Regions from separate parts of the Homo sapiens genome. Here regions 1 and 3 are each linked to region 2. The links are contacts of gene promoters, found by promoter capture Hi-C in blood cells and fetal thymus (Javierre and others, 2016). All regions are on one chromosome and are shown on one strand. Each heading gives the region's core, a stretch centred on a gene start or on the middle of the fragment in contact. The rest is flanking DNA. Distances are from core to core; before and after follow the strand shown.

Region 1 (4,861 bases), core at 1-2,500, 85 kb before region 2:
TCTGAGGGAGACTGAACACAGTTCTTCTGGATGCAAACTCAGTTCTCATTTCCCAACCTGACTCAGCCTCTGGGTGGAGGCAGCTTCTTTAGAGAGGACGCGCATCTGATGTCCTTGCAGAGAAACCCTCTGCAGAGGCTGCTGGATTGGCAAGGGCATAGGGGAGGGGACAGGGTGGGTGCAGCCCAAGATCACTGGAGTTCCTGGGAAGCGGGGAGTCTGTGGTTCTCTAATGGCTGATTTTTCTGGGGAAAAGGTGGTGTTGACTGTCCCAGCTTGGATGAGAGGATTTGCGCATTGCATCTGAAACCAAGAAAGACTAGGATCGTCTTTGGAATGTTTGGGATGGTTGATTCCGCTAAGGACTATTCATAAGGCACATTTACCAGCTCTCCCTTAGGTCTTTTCATGAACATGTTTTTATTAGTTCGTTCTCACACTGCTATAAAGAAATACCCGAGACTGGGTAATTTATAAAGAAAAGAGGTTGAACTGGCTCACAGTTCTGCAGGCTGTACAGGAAGCATAGTGGCTTCTGCTTCTGAAGAGGCTTCAGGAAGCTTCCAATCATGGTGGAAGGCCAAGGGCGAGTGAGGCACTTCACGTGGCTGGAGCAGGAGGAAGGTGCAGGGGAGGTGCCACACACTTTTAAACAAGTAGATCTCACGAGAACTCACTCACTGTCACGAGAACAGCACCGAGGGGATGTGCTCAACCATGAGAAATTGCCCCCATGATCCTGAACAAGCACACAGAACAGGCTGCCCCTGCTGCTAGAAGGGCTTCTTGTGGGCCCCCTTCTAACCCCCACCAGCTCCTGAGTTAGAATCCAGGAGGGTGCATCTGATTGGCTGGACCTAGGTCATGTGCTTGAGCCCTAGCAGCCCCGGCAGCAAGGGAGGCTGGAAAAGGCAGGAGTGAAGGGGCTCAGCTTCTGTACTAGGAGGTTCCACGCCCTGCCTCCTACACGATTCATACATAAATAGAGGATTCCCTGAACCCAGGAAGGGAGTTCAGATGCTGGGCAGCCAGGATAATTACAAATATTCTCTACGTTAGGGTGTGTGTGTATGTACAGGGCAGGGCTGGGATGAGCAGGGTGGTTAAGAGAATGAGATTTGGCATCACACAGATGGGTCTGAGGACCAGCAATCTTCACTTATTATCTCTCAGTCCTGGCGATATACAGCCTGTCCCAGCCTCAGTTTTCTTGTCAGCAAAACTGGGATACTAATGCCTATTTCACAAAATGGTAGCCTTATTATTCTTATAGTAGATGTTATTATTAGGAATATTGTGATAGCAATCATAACATGGTGTACCCATCATGTTATGATACCTCGGTCATGAACTGTAAGCCTATGTGTAAGGCCTGGTTAGATTGACCTTCTAATTTTTTACATGTCTCTCCAGCACAGATGGTCAAATCAGCTTTTGAGGCCTGAGTCCTGATACAGTCCTCAAAAGGCAGGTGCTTTTTTTTTTTTTTTTTTTTTTTGAGATGGAGTTTCACTCTTGTCCAAGTTGGAGTGCAGTGGCTCACTGCAACCTCCGCCTCCTGGGTTCAAGCAATTCTCCTGCCTCAGCCTCCTGAGTCGCTGGGATTACAGGCTCCTGCCACCATGCCTAGCTAATTTTTGTTATTTTTAGTAGAAATGGGGTTTTGCCATATTGGCCAGGCTGGTCTCAAACCCCTGACTTCAGGTGATCCGCCTGCCTTGGCCTCCCAAAGTGCTGGGATTACAGGGGTGAGACACTGCGCCCAGCCAAAGAGCAGGTGCTTTTAAAAGGATTAACCTAAGCTCTAAGTATAAAGTTTTTATTGCTGTTTTATCCTATAGTGTAATGACCCTCTAACTTTTAATTGTATATATATCTATAAAATATATAGTCTTATATAGCAATGTCTGGTTGGGTGTGCCCAAAGTCCTTTATAGCTCTAAGCTTCAGAAAAGTAAATAGAAGAAGAAGATAATTAAAAGACTAAGATAAAATAAAACAATTGTCTTTCCCACTGGAATTTGGAGGAGATGGAGTTTGCAAGTAGGAGAGTTGGAGGGGTAGTTCAGCAGCTGGTTTTATCGGCAAATAGGCCAGTTAGGAGGGGTCGCTGAGGTTTATTACATGAAATCCTCAATGGGTGGGCACTGCAGCACAGAGCAACCTGGAGTGTGTGGGGTGGGTACCCCAGTCAACACACACAGGACTCTTGCAAACAGGCTCCTTGACTGACATGCTTCTGTATAACTTTCATAAAAAGATATTGATGTTCAGAGTAATCCTGGGGCTATGTAGATCCAGAAACCGTCAAAGAAAGTTTAGATTCTACTCAGTAGATTTTTACCATGAAGCACATTTCACCGTGTTCTCATTCTTGGAAACTTAGGGATGGATGAGTGATGTTAATTGCAGTTTGCAATTCTCTGTCGACCACAATGTTGAACACAGCGGGATACTCTGTTCTCATGCCTACGTGAATAGCTACCTAAATCTGATTGTTAAGTAGGCCCATAAGGTTTACAGGACAGTTTTTTTTTTTTTTTTTTTTTTTTTTGCACATAGGGAAAAAGATGAGTCATGGTACATGGTTGATTTCTGGATTGTATCAAATTGGGAAGAATTTATGTAATCCCAAACTGGTATATTTGCACCAAAATTCTTGATAATGACAGGTTGAGGCTGGGTGTGGTGGCTCATGCCTGTAATCGCAAAGTTTTATATATTTTTTTGGGAGACCGAGGCAGGTGGATCATTTAAGATCAAGAGTTCGAGACCAACCTGGCCAACATGGTGAAACCCTGTCTCTACTAAAAGTACAAAAATTAGCCAGGCATGGTGGTGCGTGCCTGTAGTCCCAGCTACTTGGGAGGCTGAGGCACAAGAATTGCTTGAGCCTGGGAGGCGGAGGTTGCAGTGAGCTGAGATTGTGCCACTGCACTCCAGCCTGGGCAACAGAGTGAGACTCTGTCTCAAAAAAATCAAAAAGGAAAAAAAAAAGACAGGATGGTGTGATGAGTAGAGATTTACAGAAAGCAGTTTTCCCTCAGAAAGGAGGAGGGGAGTAGATGGAGGACAGTCCTCTGGGAATGGTGAGAGCTGGGTAGAGGAAGTGGGTTTTGAACGATAAGTTTGAAGAATTCATTCATTTGGTCAACAAATGTCTACTGAGCACCTACAATACATCAGGCAGGGTTCTAGGCACTGGGGATACAATAGGGAACAGAACAGATAAGTCTCCTGCCCTCATGGTAGGTGTGTGGTTTTCAGGTTACTCTGGAAAAAGGATGAACATTGGGAAAGATGGAGGAGAGAGTGAGTATTGTGTAGAGGACTGTAGGTAGGCTTGCTTCTTTTATACATTCGTTCAATTAATCCAGCATTTATGGGCCATCTTCCCTGGGCAGATTTTATGCAAGACACTGGGGATACAGAGATGACGAAGTCTTATTTGAGAAGTTCAAAGTCTGGAGCATGGAGGCACAGACTTTATGGAACAGGATGACTGAGGTCTGGTAGAAGCAGGCTCAGAGGAAAAATATGCTAATCTTGCTAGAGAGGATTTGAAAAGCTTCCTAGAAGGAAAGAAAGGATGCTGACTGCCAGCCTTTAGAGACAGCTGAGAGCTTGCCAGGTAGCAGAGAGAGCGGAAGAAGATTCTAGGCAAAAGGAATGAGAAGACATCTATTGGGGGAAGGGAGCACTAAAAGAAGGCTGTCAGGCAGGGGAAGGCTGATGGTGGAGAGCCTTTATGGGAATTGTGATTTTAATTTAATTTGAGACATGATGGGGGCCACAGCCAGGTTGAGGAGGTAACTCCATGAAAATTACATTTGAGGTTGATGACTTCTGTGTGCTTGTTCAGGATCATGTCCTTAAACAGGGAATACTCATTAGCAAACTAATTAAGGACCTTAACAGGAGGGACGGTAATTTGTTGGGTTTTAGAAGACTTAGTACAATAAATATATTGATTGAGTTTGGGTTTGCCAAGGAATTAAAGAGTCCGCACTTCCCTAATAAAAATAAAATGAAAATACTTTTTTGGAAAACTGACAGTAAGGCAGTAATGACTATAATAAACCAGAAGTCCTTCGTCCACAAACCACTGTGGTTGACAATAAGGGATTAAACATTACCTGAATTGGTAGAGAAATTATTAATAGCTGTTGCTTTTTAAAAATAGACATTTACTGCCAGTCTCTGGGGAGGAGGGAGAAGCAGAAAGGTGCAGGTGCTGATGGCTTTGAAGGGCATTAGCTGTGCCTCTTCCATTCTCATTTTCTCTTCCCTCATTCCCTTTTCCAAACTGAGAACCTGGATTCCATGTCCAGGTGGGCAGAGGGAGGAGGAGGAAGACGTGGGAGATGGCTGGAAAGAAGAACAAGCCAAATTCTTATGTACTTCTGGGCATGCTTGTGCTCCTGTTTTAATTTTTTATACCTTGCAATTTAGTGAACTTGGAGCTCCAAAACGTCTGTTGAATCTTGCCTCGGTGCTCTGGTTCTCAGCCTTGGTGGCAGCAGAAACCCTTAAACAAAAGGTTGAAAACTGCACGTTCCCAGCGCTTTCCTCCCCGCCCCTTTCCTGGGTTTTCTGTTTACTGGGATGTGGAGAGGAAGTGCAAACTCTGTAGTTTCTAAAGTTCCACAGGGGGCTTTGGATGCTTTACCTGGGGTTGAGGTACTGACTTGGAGGCTCACTTGTTGTATTAGTCTGTTTTTATGCTGCTGATAAAGACATACCTGAGACTGGGTAATTTATAAAGAAAAAGAGGTTTAATGGACTCACAGTTTCACATGGCAGAAGGCAAAAGGCACGTCTTACATGGTGGCAGACAAGAGAGAATGAGAATGAAGCAGAA
Region 2 (4,338 bases), core at 605-3,104:
GTACTCTAATCTTGGCTTACGTGGACTACACGGTTAATCCACTGAATAACAATCAGCATCTTCATCTGTGTGGTAGGAGAACCGGAGGTCAGAAGGGTAGAGGGGCGGCTAAAAGTACTTTGTTTCTATTACTGTATGACCTTGGACTAGTTACAAAACTTTTTGTGCCTACATTTCCTAATCCCTAATATGGGGTTAACAGTGCTTGCCTCTGTTTAAAAAAATTACTCAGTGATGCTTACTAAAGCATGGTAAGAAAGACTTTATTCAGGACCAACGCGATGGGTACAGGGATCAGGGAAACCCGGGGAGAGAGAGTGGGCTCCAATTCTGAATGCAGCGTCGGCAAGTAGAAATTTATGGCCATGTAAAATCACTAAGAGTAACCATCGGGGGAAGAGGGATTCTGGCTCAACCGATCTAAAGGATTCTTGTAGAACTCAGGCCAGGGTGAAAAGACATGACTGGGGGATAGAGGAAGATGAGGAACCTGATCTGCTATGAGGGGATGGGGGTTCTGTGCTAGAACTGGATTTTACAAGGAAGTGCACAGATGGGCCTAGCATGAGATTCAGAAGCCTGACTAAAGTTTGGCCAAGCAAAGAATCTTTGTCACCTCAGGGCTGTTGTGAGAATTTTAGGAGACACATCCACCAGCCTTGGCATGGGGCCTGATGCAGAGTAAGTGTTCACTAAACTTTACCTATTAACGTTAAAGCACTTTAAGTTGACAAACACTCCACGTACAGAGCTTTTAATGGGGCAAACAAGGGGCAGAGGCCTCAGCTGCAGGGTACTCAACCTCTAAGGAAGGGCGCTGGAGAAAACTGCACTTGCAGAGCCCCTGGCTGGAGGGCGGAGAACCATGTGGGTGTAAAGGGATGGCAAGGGCAGAACGTATGCCCCTGCCCACCTTAGACAGTTGCTAAAGGGTCTCCCAGGCACTCAGCCTAGCCTTTAAGTGAAAGCGGAGGAAACATTTAAAGAAATGAGATAGAGTTAAGGTGTTCGCCTGCCCTCCGCTGAAACACGTGGGGGCAGGTCAGGGGCACACCACAAATGCCCGTATCGCGCCTGTGTGTACCAGGCACCGTCCTCGGAGGTTAACGTGCAGTAACTCACTCGGGTCCCCACTTTCGGCACAGGCAGCAGGCCCAAGGTCACGCAGTGCCAAGGGACTGAGTCAGACCCGAGCCCGCGCGCCGCGGCCCACGGCCTGTGCCAGCGCGCTCCTCGCCGGGTAGGGGGCCTGGTCAGCCGCGTCAGACCTGAGAGTTGTGGCTGGGGGCGAGAGCTGCACCCCCCTACCGACCCCGGGCGGGAATGTTCCAGAACCCCTGCGAGCAGCCGTTGGCCGCACAGCCCCCGGGCCGGCCGCGACCCCGCCTTGCGCCGCGAAGGTCCCTAGCTCCGGGGAGTCGCGGGCGAGGGGCACGCGCACGGACGAGACCGCACCGCAGCGCACGCGCACTGGCGGGCACTCACTCGCCCGCCGCCCGGGAGGAGAAGGAAGGCATGGAAAGTTCCAGCCGGTTCGAGAGCTAGGTAGCAGGCATGGCAGGAGGCGGGGTAGGGGCAGGCAGGGTCGCGAGGGGGCGTGCGGCCGCCGCGAGCCGCTCTGGGCCGCGTCTGCAGCACCGCCCCTAGCCGCGGCCGGCGGGCTGGGCTGGGGTCGGGGCGGGGGCGGTGCGGCGGGTGCGGGGCTGCGGAGGGGGCGTGGCGGCCGCCCGCGGGCGGAGAGGGGGCGGGGCGGCGGCAAGGCGCGCGGGCGGGGCGGGGCGCGCCGAGGGGGCGTGGCGCGGCGTCTGCGCAGCTGCCAGCGCCTTTAAGCCCGGGCTCGCGCTCTCGGACCGTGCTTTCGCCGCCTGGGAGCCGTCCGGCGCAGCAGTTTCTAGGTCCCCACTGTCCCCGCCGTCCCGCCCCTTCGCGTCCCGGGAACCGGCTGGCTTCCGAGCCGCACTCGCCGATCCTCCAGGCATGCCCCGCTACGAGCTGGCTTTAATCCTGAAAGCCATGCAGCGGGTAAGTGACCTTCCCTCAGAGCCGGTCTTCCCGCGCGGGCGCCCCCGCTGCCGCTAGGCCGCCGTCCCCCGCGCGCCCTGGCCGCGGGACCCCGGGCCTTCCTGCACTCCTCGGAGGAGGCCGGGGCGGCGGGCGGGCGGCGGGCGTCCGCGGGAAGGGGGCGCGCGTGGGCCGGCCGGGCCCGGCCGCGTGCGCGCGGGAGGCGGGGGTGTGCCTGCGCGTGTGCGCGGTCCGGGAGGGTGTGCCTCGCAAGCGGCCCGCCGGGCGGGGGGCGGGGCGGACCGAGCGGGCCCCGACCCCGATCCCGGCGCCGGCCCGCGGGAGTCCAGTGGAAGGTCCGCGGGAGGACACGCGCGGGCGCCCAGCCCGACTCCGGCCCGTCCCCGCCAGTCGTGAAGCTGCCTCGTCGCCGGCCCCGCCGCCGCCGCCTGGTCCGTCCCGCTCCGCCGCCCGCCGGCTGCCGCCGACCGCCTCCGCTCTAGCGCCCGCCGGCCGCCCGGAACGTCCGCGCCCAATAAAGCGTTCCTCCAAAGCTTGTTTGTGCCGTTGTCTGTATTCCAGTCTCTTGCAATCGCTCTCATGTTAAAAAAAAATCTTTTGACTTTTCTTTTTCTGACTTCAGCGAAAATCCCGCTCCGGGTGCCCTTAGCCCAGTTTCATTCATCCAAGTTGTGGCCTTTCTTGCGCCTCCAGAAGACACTTTCTTCCCCCTGCTTTTGATTGATCTTGAGGTAGGGGATTTCAGGTTTGGAGGGATGCTAAGCGAACCAGCGGCCCCTTTCAGGTGACGGCGTGGCCAAGGACAGGGGCCCGCGGCCCGGAGGCAGCTCACTTCGTCCTCTGTCCTGGGTCATGTACTCCTCAAGTCGTCGCCGAAATCCCCATTCTCCCGTGAATTCGGAATTCGGTAACGTAGTTTGGTGTTATGTTTTTTTTTCTCCACCAGGTGTAATAAAACAAAAATCATTGTACCACGTCCGAACTTTGTAAGCACAGCTTCCTACAGCGCTAGAGGAGTGGACGCATTTTTACGTTTGAAATTAGGCTCCAGGTCAATTGCGAGGAGTATTACCAAGTTTGGTTGAACTTAAGCTCAATTGATAAACTAACAATCACGGAGCGTCGGGAGATTGTTAGGAAGTGTGCTTTGCATATTGTTAACTGGGAAGGGACGCCAGTGCCTCTCTATGAGGTCCAGACAGCCTGGCCAGGCATGCCATTGTGTCCCCCAGCTTGTTCTTCATGGATTTGGAAGAAGTTAAGATAGTATCTGTTCAGCCTCTTGAATATCCCTTTTGGCCCTCCTCCTTGCTTACCAGCATATGTAACTCCGAAAGGATAGGAGCAGTGAAAACAAAGCATTATTAAAAGGGAAGATTTTTAATTAGGTGGAAGTTGTTTAAGCCCTCCCTTCAACTTACGTGTTTTAGGGAATGTGGAACCTGGGAAATTCGTTACTGAAATTCCTTTTGTTTACTTTCCTTGTCTTGGGGAGGTAGCAGGTGACACTGAAAGAGGCAACCTGTAGGCAATAATATTTGCTCATTCTGTAACCCTTTGAAACCTTTGAAATGAAGACTTGCCCTCCCCTTTGTTTTTGCCATAGTTGCCAAGTATCTTGGTTAACATGGCTGCAAGTATTAAGTGTATTTCTTTTACCATTTTTTTTTATGTCCTGTAATAACATAGCCTTTGGATGTGGAGCACCCATTTTTCACTCTAGTTCAGATCAACAGAGCGTAATTTGGTTAAAATAATAAATAACCTTCCTTGAAATCTTCGCATGAGGGAAGGGGGGCAAAAAAAAGAAAAAAAGCCCTAGAAAGTAGATAATAAAGGTGAACTGCCTCTTGGAGAAAGAGGCCCCATGGCAGTAGATAGAAGGTTGTAACAGTGGTGACTTATGTACAATGGCGAAGTTATGTTGAGGAGATCCTTGACCTAAATAAAGTAATATTAAACAATAGCTTCTCAGTTATTTGTTCAAAAACCTATCTGTAGCTTGTAAATGTGGCACAAACACAAAGACTTCCAGGTTTTAGACCAGTTTGCTTGCTTTCAGTTTAGGAAAATAGGATTCTAAAATAGGATGAATGTTTGGGGGGAAACGAATTTAAAAAGTTAACTCTAGGCTTATGAAATGAAAAATGCGACTGTGAGCTTGCACACCGGTAGCAGGCCTTGGAGAAACCACAGTTCTAACCCGAGGCACTTTGTGCTTCTGTTGCAAGAAGGGTATTGAAGCTCCTCAGTTCAAAGTTGCGTATCTTCCACGTTTTTAGATTCTTAAGTGTATACCTCTTTACCCCTTTAATA
Region 3 (4,773 bases), core at 2,046-4,545, 100 kb before region 2:
GTTTCCATGTCACAGTCTGGAGGTCAGCAGGTCAGGGCTGCTGGGGTAGCTCCACATCCTTAATACGTGCTTTCCATTTCTGTGTCTAAGGAGATACCCTGGTTCTTCTCCTCTCCTTCCAGCAGTGGAAAGGGGGAAAGGGACTGGGCACAAGGGGTCGATGATACTACCAATTTTTTGAGGGCAAGATCAGGATGTGACCCTCATCACTTCTGCTGGCTTTACCTCGTCACATGACCATGGCTACTGCAAGGGAGACTGGGAAATGTAGTCTTTGGCCAGGCAGCCATGTTGCCAGCTAAAATTTATACTACAGAAGTATAGAAAAACAAAAATTGGGAGACAACCAGCCACCTGCCATAGCCACTTAGGACCTCACGAAAAAAGGCAAGAGTGATAGTTACCTCTCAAAAGGGCTCTTTGCTGGGTTCCCTTGGCAGCAAGTGCATAGTACAAAGTCTAACTCCCCATGAACCAGAAGGGAATTCAGGAAATGATTCAGGCTCCCTGGCTGACTCAAACACTCAGGATCCTGGAGAGAAAAGTAGCCATACACCCATTTGGGGCTTGGGGTTTAGTTTATAATAATAATAATGACTTTGGCACAGAAAACTTCCTGAGGGTTAATGAATGACTGGCTTGGATTAATAGCCCAAATCACTGCTGAAATCTATCAACTCCTTCCAGCTTCATATTAATCTACAGGAAATTCTTTGTATACCGAGCTATTACAGCTTCAATCTCACAAAATAAAAATGAATGGATGTTTCATTAGAACTTGGAAAAAAACTTGATCACCATTGTGGGTGGCCACCATGCTGTTATTATTTTTTTTCCAGGCACATTTCCTGCATTTCCTCCGGTTCTCTTTCTGGCTTCAATTTGCTGCAGTGGCAACAGCAGCAGCTGGCCCTCTAGACTAACATCTCCTTGCTATTTATAATACACTTTGCAATGCTCATTATTTCTTAACTTTGTCTTCCCAGATAGACTGGGAGCTCCATGAGGTCCGAGACAACCTGAAGACGCCCAGCTCAGCAGAGACTGGCTACGGCAATCACTCAGTAACTATTTGTTGAATTGGACATAATAGAAGAGCTGAAGAATTTTAAACAAGTCACCATCAGTGCAGTGGATTCCTCAAAGCAAACCTGGAAATCTCGGCATGAGTTGGATTTAAGGCAGTACATTTTCAGCTCCTGAAAATTTGAACAGTTTCTCAAGAGAACAACTTGAAACAGAAAGGCAAGGATGTAGATGTGGTTGTAGAAGATGATGTCTGCGGCCACCAAACTGTCCACTGTGAAGACAAACCATGCATGTTTAGTAGGCAGTGGCTCCTCTTCCCTGTGGGGAGTCCCACTGCTTCCCTGGCCTGGGTGTTCTCTGCCGGTAGATGTTATTGACAAAATAAGCAAAGTCCTCTGATTCTGAGAATTAGAGTTAATGATAGCTCTAGATTGCCTCTGCCATGCTATTTAAAGTCCTGCTTTATTGTCTGACATGAGTTCGGCATCTATGAGGACTTGTCCAGTGCAAAGTACAATCTCCACTGAAAGATATCACCAGCACATCTTGTCACTGTGCTGTAGCAAGCTGGGCAGTACAATGATGTTGGCAGGATCCTGTTTAGGTGGAGGATGGCCACCTGGGCATCAAGAATCTTCTACCCTGATTCCACATTGACTCCCCAAAGTGGGCTTCAGACAGCTCTTTACTTACGTCTTCTGATTAAAGCAGCAGACAGGGTCCCAGCTAGAGAAAAGTTCTGGGAGCAGGAGAGGTGTTGGTGGCTTTAAAACCAGGGGTGAAGATTGAATTAGGAGGTTAGGCAGGAGTAGGATCAAAGACTTAGAAAATGCTTGTTTCCTCCTATTATTCTTATGAGAGCTGATACGGGGCTTTCAGTTTTGGGGGAGAGCCTTGGAAGAGAATGAGGGAATTTAATCAACTAGCGGGACCTTTCCAACTTACATTTCCCAGTGTTTGTTGGATGATACGTTTGCCTAATAAGTTAAAGCTTCCAAAAATAGAAAGGAAAGCTTGGTGACACTAAGCTCTGGCATGCTGTCATCTTCTGGCTAGGGGTCTTGTGCTTCTGTTTTTCTATTTCTGACCAAAGACATAAAATGTGTTGTGACCTCTCAGGTAATGCTGTGGTATCATGTCCAAGCAGTAACTAACCAGAGTGGAGTTTTTACAGGTAAAAAAGTATTGAATAGCTCAGCAACAGGGAGGACTTAATGATAAATTGCTTTTTCAGAAAATGACAAGGGGACAGACACTTGCGGTTCTTCCATTGAGAGCCTTAAGGAAGTTAAGCGAAGCCTCTGCTCACCCCTTCAAGTAACGATGACCCATCAGATCGTGGTCATAACCAGTAGCATCTGAGGCACCCCTAAGCTCTCTGGGCCCCAGATTCCTTGTTAAGTTAAATGAGGTGACTTCCCAGTTTACCATTCTAGGGGTTCCTGAGGAGTTAAAAATGAAGGAGAAAATGCAACATGTACCAAGTGAGCAAGAGCTCAAGGCTTATCTCTGGCACGAAAGTGACCGCTGTCCGTTAGAGATGTGATTGCCCTAGATTTCCTTTAGGAAATGCAAACATTGAACTCTGGCCTTCAGGACCCAAGTCCCGGCTTGCATCTATTCTATACACTTTCTGTTATTTGTTAGGGCTCACAAGGAACAGTTATTTATCTTTTATTTTCTATTTTTTTTTTAGAGATGGAGTCTCACTCTGTCTCCCAGGCTGGAGTGCAGTGGTGCCATCTCAGCTCACTGCAACCTCCACCTCCCGGGTTCAAGCAATTCTCCTGTCTCAGCCTCCTGAGTAGCTGGGACTACAGGCGTGTGCCATCATGCCCGGCTAATTTTTAGTATTTTTAGTAGAGGCAGGGTTTCACCATATTGGCCAGGCTGGTCTTGAACTCCTGATCTCAAGTGATCTACCCTCCTTGGCCTCCCAAACTGCTGGAATTACAGATGTGAGCGACCACACCTGGCCCATTTGTTTTCTTTCAAACCCTTCTGTAAGACCAGTGCTTTAGGTGAACACGTGGACAGAACAAGATCATCACTATTTTGCAATATGAAGACCAACTGCGCTGTGACCAGAAAAACAGAGGCAAAATGTTGAGCTTAATGATACCTTTTTATAATTTGTATTTGGTGTTTCTCAATTTTCCATTGGATAGTTTGAGAGATAAGTACAAGTCAATGACATGTTCTCTTTCGTACCCTATTGTCTAATCCTGCTAACACACACACACACACACACACACACACTGATTACCTAATTTATCTGTTCCCCGATTATTACACTCTCAATTGCTGCAGAGTCTCAGAAGCAGCATGGTGTAACAGAAAGAATATGAGGCTTAGAATCCAAAAGCCAGAGTGTGAATTCCAGCTCCACTGACTTGCTGCGTGACTTGAAGCAAGTCATTACGTGTCTCTGTTTACTCATTTTATGACTTTCCTATTGCCTCTGTAATATAGCACCACAAACGTGTGGACTTAAAACAACATGCATTTATTCTCTTAGCGTTCTGGAGGTCAGGAGTCTGACATCAATTTCGTTGGGCTAAAATCAAGATGTTGGTAGGACCAAGATCCCCGTGGAGGCTCTGGGAGAACCCATTTCCTTGCCTTTGCCAGCTTCTAATGCTGCATTCCTTGCATTCCTTGATTGTTGACCTCTTCCCCCATCTTCAAAGCCAGCAGAACAGCACCTTGTTTCATTGCCTTCTTTACTGTCAAATCTCCCTCTGCCTTCTTCTTATAAGAACACTTGTGGTTGCATTTAGAAGCTGTGATAATCCAGAATAATATCTTTATCTCAAGATCTTTGACTTGGTCTCTTCTGCAAAGTCTCTTTTGCCACAGAGGGAAATATTCACAGGTCCCAGGGGTCAGGCTGTGTACGTCTTTGGGGGACTTTATTCTGCCTACCACACTCATCTTTTTTTTTTTTTTTTTTGGATGGAGTCTTGCTCTGTCACCCAGGCTGGAGTGCAGTGGCATGATCTCGGCTCACTGCAACTTCTGCCTCCCCAGTTCAAGCAATTCTCCTGCCTCAACCTCCCAAGTAGCTGGAATTACAGGCGCCTGCCACCACGCCCGGCTACTTTTTGTACTTTTAGTAGAGATGGGGTTTCACTATGTTGGCCTGGCTGGTCTTGAACTCCTGACCTCAGGTGATTCCCCCACCTTGGCCTCCCAAAGTGCTGAGATTACAGACGTGAGCCACCATGCCCGGCCCCACACTCATCTATTAAGTAGAGCTAGGAATTCCTATCCTAAGGGACACAAAAATGAAAAAAGATAAAATTTGTGAAGAGGCACATAATGAAAGCCCATACATGTCACTGAGTTCAGAGGAGGGTGGGTCTGACCTCCCATTGGCTGGTCTCTGCCTGATGGACATCGTGAAGAAGAGAGCCAGGACTAGTGTGGCTGGGGGATGTTCAGGGGCCAGAGTGGCTTCAGGTGCCAGCAGCCCTGGCCGAAGGATGACTCCAGGAGCAAGGCTCAGAGCCGAGTGGAAGAAGCTTCATAAACGCAACTGAGCCAAGCATGATGGGATGTGCCTGTGGTTCCAGCTACTCAGGAGGCAGGTGGGAGGATGGCTTGAGTCAGAAGTTCGAGGCTGCAGTGAGCTATGATCACACTACTGTACTCCAGCCTGGGTGACAGAATGACACCCTGTCTCTAAAAAGAAAAGGCACCTGGATGCTCATGACCGAGATGGGGTGGGGTGGGTGGGGTGGG

Evidence for each region. Contacts are between HindIII fragments. The CHiCAGO score rates a contact against its expected background, and 5 or more counts as called.
Region 1: a contact is called between a fragment that was not itself captured here and the fragment with the promoter of MRPS6 in region 2, in 2 of 17 cell types (total CD8 T cells and activated CD4 T cells). The highest score is 5.7, in total CD8 T cells.
Region 3: a fragment that was not itself captured here is called in contact with the fragment with the promoter of MRPS6 in region 2 in 5 of 17 cell types (total CD8 T cells, activated CD4 T cells, naive CD8 T cells and 2 more); the score reaches 6.3 in total CD8 T cells.

Annotation. Positions count from the first base shown.
Region 1 is chr21:33,987,778-33,992,638 of GRCh38, forward strand. All of the region lies in intron 2 of LOC105372790 (a long non-coding RNA gene), which reads left to right. Among named protein-coding and RNA genes, the nearest start is that of LINC00649, 59 kb to the left of the region's middle. The HindIII fragment of the contact is 1,384 bases long and covers 559-1,942 here.
Region 2 is chr21:34,071,724-34,076,061 of GRCh38, forward strand. MRPS6 (mitochondrial ribosomal protein S6) reads left to right here and starts at 1,855. Exons shown (of 3, transcript NM_032476.4): 1 at 1,855-2,022. The coding sequence starts at 1,978. It overlaps SLC5A3 (solute carrier family 5 member 3), which reads left to right and starts at 1,855. Exons shown (of 2, transcript NM_006933.7): 1 at 1,855-2,022. RefSeq lists silencers at 1,303-1,822, 2,113-2,512 and an enhancer at 1,766-2,716. The HindIII fragment of the contact is 10,607 bases long and covers 1-2,553 here.
Region 3 is chr21:33,968,251-33,973,023 of GRCh38, forward strand. It overlaps LINC00649 (long intergenic non-protein coding RNA 649), which reads left to right. Exons shown (of 3, transcript NR_038883.2): 3 at 987-2,936. It overlaps LOC124905013 (a long non-coding RNA gene), which reads right to left and starts at 214. Exons shown (of 2, transcript XR_007067847.1): 1 at 1-214. RefSeq lists an enhancer at 3,430-4,119 and a silencer at 3,518-3,812. The HindIII fragment of the contact is 2,511 bases long and covers 2,041-4,551 here.